Linked DNA regions of Homo sapiens: regions 1 and 2 are each linked to region 3. The links are contacts of gene promoters, found by promoter capture Hi-C in human tissues and cell types (Jung and others, 2019). All regions are on one chromosome and are shown on one strand. Each heading gives the region's core, a stretch centred on a gene start or on the middle of the fragment in contact. The rest is flanking DNA. Distances are from core to core; before and after follow the strand shown.

Region 1 (3,394 bases), core at 675-3,174, 280 kb after region 3:
CATTTTTTGTAATAATGTTTTATTTAGGGAATTACTGGGAAAATAAAGTCATTATACCCAACTTGAATGTAAAGCTATGCTTGCTAATTTTTGGAGAATAAAATGTCTGGGCTAAATGTTGGCTTTTAATAAAGTGGAGCTGCCCATTGTCATTACCCTTGGGTCTTAGGTAACCTGGAACCCAGAAGAAGCTAGAAATAAACACTACCTGTTCTCACTACAACAAGTTTAGCTTTACTCAGGAAGACAATTTGACCACTGGGAAAGCATTTTATTAAAACGTTTGTTTCTATTGGCCCAAAGGATAATGCGTGCATCAGTAGGCTTCTCAGTGCTTACAGGTGGTGTTTTGGCAAAAACTGAGTGGAGGGATTTTTTTAACTCTTCTACAACCTAGATGTATTGTTTGCAGATTTGAATGTATTCACTTAATATATTAAATGTTTAATATTAAATATAAAAAAAATTAAAAAAGAAATGCTTGTTCCCCAGTGCCGTAAAGAAATAGCACTTGAACATAAATTCAATTTCCTCAGGAAGGCCATTTTTACTTTCTGCAGAAAGGGTACCCTCGTCAGCAGTTTTGCCATGAGAGTACACTGAACAAAGGAGACAGGGTCATTTATAACCTGACGCGTCCACCCTACTGCTGTGTCCGGTTTCCATTGGCTGGAATGGGACTTCACATTTTGTATTTGTCCCGATTGGCTAGCAACTTAGAACTTTTAAAAGAGGCAAAGGCAGAGGAGAACAAAGGAAGGGGAAGTAACTTGTGGAATGCTGAGAAAGGTAAAAACACCTTCAAATAAGGATGAGGAACAGGCTATGACCTAATGTTTGTTTGGACCAGTATAAGCATGCCAGGGCAAATATTTAGGCTACATTGTGGGAGCTAAGAACATAAAGGACATTGATTTCTTTATTATGACTTGCAGATATTTAAGAATGTCACCACAGATCTTTGAATAAATTTTGCTTCTAAGAGAAGTTACTATTTATCCCTAATTAGATGGGGAGGAAAGTCTTTGAAGAGGAACCTCTACTTTTTATAATAGCGATTCTCCTACCTCAGCCTCCCAAGTATACAGGTGCTCGCCACCACATCAGGCTAATTTTTATATTTTTAGTAGAGACGGGGTTTCACCATGTTGGACAAGCTGCTTTCTAACTCCTGATCTCAGGTGATCCGCCCGCCTCAGCCTCCCAAAGTGCTGGGATCACAGGCGTGAGCCACTGCGCCTGACCGAGGATGGCATCTTTGATGTAAATAAGCTTTTCCCAAATTCACAGATTAAGACTTCTACTGTCATAAAACTCTTATCTTTCAATATTTGTTCTTGCTTATGCCTCTATGAACAATAAAAGTGGAAAAGGCATCTGTTATGTGCACTAATGGGATGTACTTTTATTTGTGAAGGAGTTTGCAGCCAACCTTATATATGGATAACTTTATACTTTAATAGATAAAAAATGAAGGCCCAGTGCAGGTAAAAAACTTTAATGGGGCCAGGCACGGTGGCTTATGCCTGTAATCCCAGCACTTTGGGAGGCCGAGGCAGGTGGATCACCTGAAGTCAGGAGGTTGAGACCAGTCTAGCCAATGTGGTGAAACCCCATCTCTACTAAAAAAATATATATATATATATACATAAAAATTAGCTGGGCATGGTGGTGCACCTGTAATCCCAGCTACTCGGGAGGCTGAGGCATGAGAATCGCTTGAACCCGGGAGGCAGAGGTTGCAGTGAGCCAAGATGGTGCCATTGCACTCTAGCCTGGGCAACAAAAGCGAAACTTCGTCTCAAAAAAAAAAAAGTATCCCTCATGATGGGTTCTATAGCAAATTCTACTGTAAAGGCTACAGTTATACAATAGACTTTAAATTCTCTTGTGAAAGTTAAGATAGAATTGGCTAAACAGAGAAGTATCTGTGCAGCTGCTGGCACTTGTGGCCTACGGAGAAATACATCACATGAAGATTATAGAAATATAGTGGTAGGGGATTAACAAAGAGACTGCTTAGTCAAATGAGTAAACTTTTTTTTTTTTTTGAGACGGAGTTTTGCTCTTGTTGCCCAGGCTGGAGTGCAATGGCACGATCTCGGCTCACCGCAACCTCTGCCTCCCGGGTTCAAGCGATTCTCCTGCCTCAGCCTCCCGAGTAGCTGGGACTACAGGCATGCACCACCATGCCTGGCTAATTTTGTGTTTTTAGTAGAGACGGGGTTTCACCATGTTGGTCAGGCTGGTCTTGAACTCCCGACCTCAGGTGATCTGCCCATCTCGGCCTCCCAAAGTGCTGGGATTACAGACATGAGCCACCACGCCCGGCCATGAGTAAACTCTTTATCTAGTTCATTCTTTGATCTATGTGATTTTAGGTGGTTTGGTTTATGGGGAACCTGGGTAAGGAGCATACTCCAAACTCTTGGTATCATCCTCCCGATAGTCATAATAATAGTCTCCCTGGTGCGCTCTATTCTCTCAAAGGTTTTAAATGCTTGCGTGCAGCCATCTCTAGAATGTCAAATGGTCTCTCTTCAACTGGAATAACAGGAGCTAAAAAAATGTGCAACCATAAGGACACTATAAGCTATAAATGATGTGCTGAGATAGGAAACCCAAAATGATGGTAACTGAGAGTGGCGCTAAGTCCCTAAGGTTTGGTCACACTCTCACTTAAATGACAGCCTAACCAAAAAGGGTAATTTTTTAAACAAAATTATGGAAGGCCATTGTTTTGGACTAGGCTCATGCACTAGGCCTCAACAAACCAAACCAAAATGGAGTCGCTCATGCTAGGACTTTAAGGAAACACATAGATTCTAAAACAGACCAAGTTTTTTTTCTCCTGCAAATCTCTATGACAAACCTTTCTTTTTTTTTTTTTCTGAGACGGAGTCTCACTCCCTCGCCCCCAGACTGGAGTGCAGTGGCTCAATCTCAGCTTATTGCAACCTCCACCTCCCAGGTTCAAGCAACATTCCTGCCTCAGCCTCCTGAGTAGCTAGGATTACAGGCATGCACCACCCCGCCCGGCTAATTTTTTTGTATTTAGTAGAGACAGGGTTTCACTATGTTGGCCAGGCTGATCCTGAACTCCTGACCTCGTGATCTGCCTGCCTCGGCCTCCCAAAGTGCTGGGATTACAGACGTAAGCCACTGCGCCTGGTCAATATAACAAACATTTCTAACAGCATAGGTATCCACCCCCTGCAGTTCCCATTAAATGTTTTAACCAAATTCATTTCCTCTTGCCTAGAGACCATCAAGCTTCAGCTGATCATGCAACAAAGCTTCCAGCCAGTTCCAGGTGAAGACATCACCCCTGGCCATCAAAAAGCTACCCTGCCTCCACTAGACAGAGCAGGGTGAGAGTTCCATGATCCCTAAT
Region 2 (3,485 bases), core at 543-3,042, 440 kb after region 3:
GATCACCTGAGGTCAGGAGTTCGAGACCAGCCTGGCTAACATGGTGGACCCGTCTCTACTAAAAATACAAAATTAGCTGGGTGTGGTGGTGCATACCTGTAATTCTAGCTACTTGGGAGGCTGAGGCAGGAGAATTGCTTGAACCCAAGAGGTGGAGGTTGCAGTGAGCTGAGATTGCGCCACTGCACTCCAGCCTGGGCAACAAGAGCAAAACTGTCTCCAAAAAAAAAAAAAAAAAAAAGAATGCTGCTCCCTTGGTAGTCTTGGTCTCTCTTCTGGATTAGTCTCACCTTCTCTATTAAATATTCTCATTAGCCTATCTAGTTCCCATTGTTTAAAAGAAAAGCCTTCTTCTTTACATAGGGAGACCCTGTCTCTATAAAAAAAATTTTTTTTTAATTAGTTGGGTTACAGTGGTGCACACCTGTGGTCCCAGCTACTCAGGAGAGGCTGAGGTAGGAGGATCACTTGAGCCCAGTAGGTTGAGTCTGTGGTAAGCCGTAATTTGCACCATTGCACTCCAACCTGGATGACTGAGTGACATCTTGTCTTAAAAAAAAATTAAAAAAAAAAAAAAGCCCTCTTCTTTGACCCCATCTCCCTCTGAAGCCACTAAGCTGCTTCTCTCCACTTTACAGCAGCAAAATTTCCCTAACGAGCTGTCGATATTCACCTCACTTCCTATTCTCTCTTCGAAGCATCCCAATGTGGCTTGGACCACTTGTCAAAACAGTCACCATCATGTTGTCAAATCCAAATAGACATTTCTCTATTCTCATTGTGTAACTTCTCAGCAGCATTTGACAGAGGTGACCATTCCCTCTTTCTTGAAAATAATAAAATACTCTCCCACTTTAATGGCTGAACCTTTTCAGTCTCCTTTGCCCAAGCTTTAGCCGTTGTTAGTGTTTTAGGGCTTTTTTTTTTCCCCACACAGAGCTGGCTGTGTGGGAGACCAGAGTTTTATTACTCCAGTCTCGCAGGGCTTGATCTTAAGGCCACAAACAATCTCAATCAGTTCCATGACATGCCATCTGTATACTAGTGACTCCCAAAATTTATGTCCAGTCTAGATCACTCCCCTCAGCTCAACTTAAATATTCAGTGCCTACTTAACTCTCCGCTTGGATGCCTCCCAAGTATTTACACAGAACTCTTGCTACCCACTCCTCTCCACCTGTTCCTCCTCCAGTCTTCTCCAACCAGCAAATGGTACCATCAGCAGCCCAAGGCTGGAGCCTGCAACCTGAAGGCACCCTTGATTCCTCCCTCTCCCTCCACAGCCAACCCATTAAGCAAATCCTTCTGATTCCACCTCCAAAATACATATGTAAAAGTTGCTGTCTACTCTGCTGTATCTCATTGCCACTTTACTTGCCTGAGATACTATCGATCTTGGGCTGACTACAATAGCCTCCTAACTTCCCTGTTTCCTCTCTTCCTCTAAATAGCCAGTTATTTTTAAAAACATTATCACTGCCCAAATTAAAACCCCTCTCATTGCCATTAGAATTAAATCCAAAAATCCCCCTATGGAGTAATACAAGACGACCTATAGGATCTCTCCAACTCCATCTCATTCCTACCCTATTCATAATTTCTCCCCTTGCTCAGAGGAGCCTTCTCTCCAGTCTAACAACCAGCCTTCCAGGTCTTTGAACTTGTTCCCAGGTCTGAAATGTCTCCCCAGCTTTTCACATGGCTAGCACAAGTTCATGTTTCACGTCTCAGCTCAAATATCACCTCTATGAAAAGACTTTCTTTGACCCTTACTAGCCAAAATGGTCATTCCCAACATACTCTTTTAGATCCACCAGCCACTTAATATTTTTTCTTAATCTGTCATTATCTTGATTTTTTAACTATTTTCTGTCCTTCCCCACTATACTGTAAATTTCATGAGTGCAGAGATCTTGCCGGTCTTAAAATTCCAACAAGGTTAAAGAAGCTACTGTTTCCCTCTAAGCAGTTTTAGATTTCCCCCTCCTTTCAAGCTTTATTGGATTTTAGTCTAGTCAAAGATTATAATTACTTTGGCATTTACCATAAAAAACAAGGGGAGAAAAACCAGAAGTGACTTCCCTTCAAAAACTGGAAGTCACTCCACCCACCTAGTGGTCTAGACTGGACACAGACTGCACAGAGGTATCCAACAAATGCTCCTTACAAAAACTTTCCAATGTGGACATATGCAAAGATGGTATAATTCTGACATCTGCATCAAAAATCTAAGTTTTAAACTACTCTCCCTAGCAATTACTAAACACAACGATTTGAGAAGAATCAACAAGAGAAAGCACAAAATAAAATCCATGATCCTTAATCCAGAGAAATTAATGATTTCATCACTGACTTGGTTCTTTCTCATTTTAGTAAGGTCATCTATTCATCACCTGCTCTAGATGCTTCTTCCTGACCTGTGTTTTTTGTCTCCAGGCTGGAGTGCAGTGGCGCGATCTCAGCTCACTACAACCTCCGTCTCCCAGGTTCAAACCATTCTCCTGTCTCAGCCTCCTGAGTAGCTGAGATTACAGGCATGTGCCCACCAAGCCCGGCTAATTTTTGTATTTTTAGTAGAAACGGGGTTTCACCACGTTGGTCAGGCTGGTCTCGAACTCCTGACCTCGTGATCCGCCCACCTCGGCCTCCCGAAGTGCTGGGATTACAGGTGTGAGCCACTGTGCCTGGCCCTGACCTGTGTTTTTATCCATATTCTGCTATTAGGTTCCACATAACTTGACTATCCTACTTCCCAAAACCCAGAAGATATGTCCACAATTCAAAATTCAGGAAACAACCTTTTCTTTTAAGGATTTATCTTCAGGTCTTTATATCAGGGTCTTTTCTACCCTATTCTCAATTTCTGGATCAATCCTGGATTCAATTCTTTTTTTTTTTTTTGAGATGGGAGTTTCGTTCTTGTTTCCCGGACTGGAGTGCAATGGTGGGGTCTCGGGCCACTGCAACCTCTGCCTCCCCAGTTCAAGTGATTCTCTCGCCTCAGCCTCCCAAGTAGCTGGGATTACAGGCACCTGCCACCACACTCGGCTAGCTTTTTTGTATTTTTAGTACAGACGGGGTTTCACCACGTTGGACAGGCTGGTCTCTAACTCCTGACTTCAGGTAATCCGCCCGCCTCAGCCTCAAAAGTGCTGGGATTACAGGCATGAGCCACCGTGCCAGGCCTCAAGGCTACGTTTGTTACACAGCTGTCTTGACTAAACTAGATGGCCTGGCTAGACCTAGAAGCCTGTATGTTGTATAACTTCTCAATAGAATGAGACAACATACTTTAAAAAAAAACGTACTGAGATTTTAAAGTCTTAGGATACCTAAACCTTTTTCTCTGAGGAAATAATTTCGATTTGATAAATGGCAGCTACAAGAGGAAAAACAAAAATGAGACTAATGTGAGCAAAAAACTACTGAAACTCAAAATTACATGGACCTCAATTCTCATGTTCCAATTCAAAAAAGAGCAGAAC
Region 3 (3,579 bases), core at 245-2,744:
GCGATTCTCCAGCCTCAGCCTCTGGAGTAGCTGGGACTACAGGAGTGTGCCACCACGCCTGGCTAACTTTTTGTATTTTTAGTAGAGACGGGGTTTCACCGCGTTAGCCAGGATGGTCTCGATCTCCTGACCTCGTGATCTGCCCACCTCGGCCTCCCAAAGTGCTGGGATTACAGACATGAGCCACCGAGCCCAGCCAATTTTTTTTTTATTAGCTCAGCATGGTGGCACGTGCCTGTAGTCCTAGCTACTCAGGAAGCTGAGGTGGGAGGATTCCTTGAACCCTCAAACTTGAGGCACGAGTTTGAGGCTGCAGTGAGCAATGATCGTGCCTCTGCACTCCAGTGTGGGCGACAGGGACCTTGTCACCAAAAATAATAAATAAATAAATAAATAAAGTTTTAAAAAACTTCATCTTACATTTCAAAAGGCATCAAGCCAACAGGGTCCAGATGTTCGCCTAACCAATGGAGACAACACCCAACCAGATAAGGGCATCACCCTTTACTATAAGTCCTCATCAGAGGACTCAAGGACCATAAAATGATCAGGACTTCAGCAGCTAGACACGGCCACCTTAACAGACCGAGTCTTGCTATCACTCGTGCCCAGCACCTGGTGTCTGCCTCTGAAGGCTCTGCCCAAATCAAGGACTCTTCCTTGCAAGCTCTTGATGACTATCCCCATCAGGCCGGGACTCTGTCCACAGCACTCTCCTTGGACTGGTTCGTTAACCCCTTTTCTCTTGATGTTAAATGTTCTTGTGTTTGATGTGAAATTTTAACCTGTAACATTTATATCCTTACATATAATACTATGGATGGTTTGCAATACAGTCTGACTTGTGGAGTGGCTCCAGCTTGCATGCCCGCGGCTCTGACTACCGAGTGAACAGGTGGTCCTAAGGAGAACTGACTTCTTGGGAACTCCGTGTGACGCCTAGCTTTTGTGATTGAAATAGCATCAGTAAAAACCTGATCTTGTGGACAGACACAAAGGTGGGTGGACCTGGTTCTGTCTGACCTTGAGCAGCTCACGACATGTGGACACCTGTTAGGAGGCTGTGGAGAGCCCAGAGGAGGCTTAGACCAGGGTGGTGGCCCTGTAGGCGGTCGTGAGATTTCAGATTTGGAAGGACGAATCCACACGAGTTGTCAATGGATGGGACGCAGAGTTTGAGAGAAAGGGAACGATCCAGATGACTCCGAGGGTCTTGGGCCTGAGCAGCTGGGAGGATGCAGCTGGGGAAGACGGCGGGGAGGAGGGGAGCAGAAGCGGGTGAGGTGGGGAAGCCCTCGAGTTCTGCCTGGACAAGGTCAAGTTAAGGTGCGTGTTAGGCATCCGAACGTCAAGTCCAGGAAGGGTGTGTTCCCGAAAGGGTCCCGGCTGGATCCTCCCAGTTCGTCGTCCCCATTCCACAGGTGTGGACTCAGCAGCCGGGCTCTGCGCTGGGCCGGGCGGGGTCACGTGGCCGCGGGCTGGCGCCCCCTGGCGCCGGAGAGCGCGGGCGGCTGGGGAATGGCTGCTGCCATGGTGCCGGGGCGCAGCGAGAGCTGGGAGCGCGGGGAGCCTGGCCGCCCGGCCCTGTACTTCTGCGGGAGCATTCGCGGCGGACGCGAGGACAGGACGCTGTACGAGCGGATCGTGTCTCGGCTGCGGCGATTCGGGACAGTGCTCACCGAGCACGTGGCGGCCGCCGAGCTGGGCGCGCGCGGTGAGGCCCTGGGGCCGCGGGACGCGGGGACGCGGGCGCGGACCTGGCTGGGGTGGCAGGGACCCGGCCTGTCCGCCCCCCCGACCCCCGGCAGCTGCGCTCCCGGCGCCCGGAGCCCGCCCTCCTACCCCGGTGCTCCATCCAGCGCCCCAGCCCGAGAAGGAAACGGGCCGGGGCTCGGGCTGCGTGGGTCCCAGCAAGCCTGCGGGTGTAAGGCAGACTCAGCATTATCTTGACCTTTGGTTCCTTCTTGGAGAACTCTGTCTTCAGCTGCTTTCAGAGCGTTTGTAGGGTGCAACAGAAAGAAGGTAGATTGGGCTGCTTTGCTTGGGCTCAGTTCCCACCTCACCCGCTGGAATCTTTTCCACCACCCAACACGAAAGGTATCCTCCTGCCTCCCCACCAACTTTTTTTGTTTTGTTTTGTTTTGTTTTTGAAACGGAATCTCACTCTGTCGCCCAGGCTGGAGTGCAGTTGCGTGATCTCGGCTCACTGCAACCTCGACCTCCCGGGTTCAAGTGATTCTCTTGCCTCAGCCTCCCGAGTAGCTGGGACTACAGGCACGCGTCACCACACCCGGCTACTTTTTGTATTTTTAGTAGAGACGGTGTTTCACCATATTGGTCAGGCTGGTTTCGAACTCCTGACCTCAGGTGATCTGCCCGCCTCGGCCTCCCAAAGTGCTGGGATTACAGACAGGAGCCACCGCCCAGGGCCTGCCTCCCCTTTTTCTGTGAAGACATCAGCACTCTTTTAGACCTGGCTGACCCCAGTTCTCACTATTACCCTCTCTCACATTTTTGTTTTGTTGATACAAGGGCCTCTCTGTCGCCCAGGCTGGAGTGCAGTGGTGCGATCATAGCTCACTGCAGCCTCGGCTTCCTAAACTCATGATCCTCCAGCCTCAGCCTCCTATTAGCAAGGACTGCAGGGGCACGACACCATGCCTGGCTCAAAATTTTTCTGTAGAGATTGGGAGTCTCACTATGTTGCCCAGTCTGGTCCCGACCTCCTAGCCTCAAGTGATCCTCCCGCCTCAGGCCTCCCGAAGTGCTGGGACTATAGATGTGAGCCCCCATGCTGGCCTCATATTCTCTTTCAGGCCATTATTGTGTTCTGCTCCTGGCTGCTGGGTTTTTCTTTCTCTTTCTATTTATTTAGTTATTTATTTGGAAACAGTCTTGTTCTATTACCCATGCTGGAGTGCAGTGGCAAAATCTCAGCTCACTGCTAACCTCTGCCTCCCGGGCTTGAGCAATCCTCCCACCTCAGCCTCCCAAGTAGCTGGGACTACAGGTGTGTGCCGCCATACCTGGTTAAGTTTTGTATTTTTTATAGGGACGGGATTTTGCCATGTTGGCCAGGCTGGTCTTGAACTCCTGAGCCCAAGTGATCTGCCTGCCTCAGCCTCCCAAAGTGTTGGGATTACAGACATGAGCCGCTGAGTCTGGCTGGATTTCTCTAAAGCATATTTGATGTGCTGGTCTGGAATCTTGCAGATCCTTCCAGTTTGAAAATTGTATCTTGAATGCTTGTGCTTCTGCTCAGAAAACCTTAAGTGGTTTCCACTTATCCTACCCAAGAGCAGACCCACAATTTGTGGGACCTCATGCAATTCTGGGAGACCTCTTTAAAAAGACAAAAATCACAATACAAAGTTGCTGATGGTTTGGAAAGGGCCTGTGCAAGTGGAGGACCCTGAAGCTTACAGCTCATTAGTTCATGGTATATCCAGACTGCCTGGTGGCTCTCCAGGTCTTTAGTGTCATCTGAGGGAGCCTGTTAAAAATGCAGGTTCTGATCATCTGGGATAAAGCCTTCGAATATGTACTTTTTTTTTTCCCCCAAGACAGAGTCTTGCTCTG

What was found. Contacts are between HindIII fragments. The study calls those that stand out against the background at their distance.
Region 1: a fragment that was not itself captured here is called in contact with the fragment with the promoter of DNPH1 in region 3 in 2 of the 25 tissues and cell types used here (mesenchymal stem cells and mesendoderm cells).
Region 2: a contact is called between a fragment that was not itself captured here and the fragment with the promoter of DNPH1 in region 3, in 1 of the 25 tissues and cell types used here (adrenal gland).

Annotation. Positions count from the first base shown.
Region 1 is chr6:42,951,990-42,955,383 of GRCh38, reverse strand. The region is part of intron 1 of CNPY3-GNMT (CNPY3-GNMT readthrough); the gene reads right to left. Among named protein-coding and RNA genes, the nearest start is that of GNMT, 7.1 kb to the left of the region's middle. The HindIII fragment of the contact is 5,528 bases long and covers 1-3,394 here.
Region 2 is chr6:42,784,979-42,788,463 of GRCh38, reverse strand. All of the region lies in intron 1 of BICRAL (BICRA like chromatin remodeling complex associated protein), which reads right to left. LOC401261 (a long non-coding RNA gene) reads right to left here. Exons shown (of 2, transcript NR_134654.1): 1 at 3,133-3,485. Among named protein-coding and RNA genes, the nearest start is that of BICRAL, 4.7 kb to the right of the region's middle. The HindIII fragment of the contact is 4,014 bases long and covers 1-3,485 here.
Region 3 is chr6:43,227,396-43,230,974 of GRCh38, reverse strand. DNPH1 (2'-deoxynucleoside 5'-phosphate N-hydrolase 1) reads left to right here and starts at 1,494. Exons shown (of 4, transcript NM_006443.3): 1 at 1,494-1,714. The coding sequence starts at 1,519. RefSeq lists silencers at 1,196-1,635, 1,696-1,885 and an enhancer at 1,213-1,712. The HindIII fragment of the contact is 36,780 bases long and covers 1-3,579 here.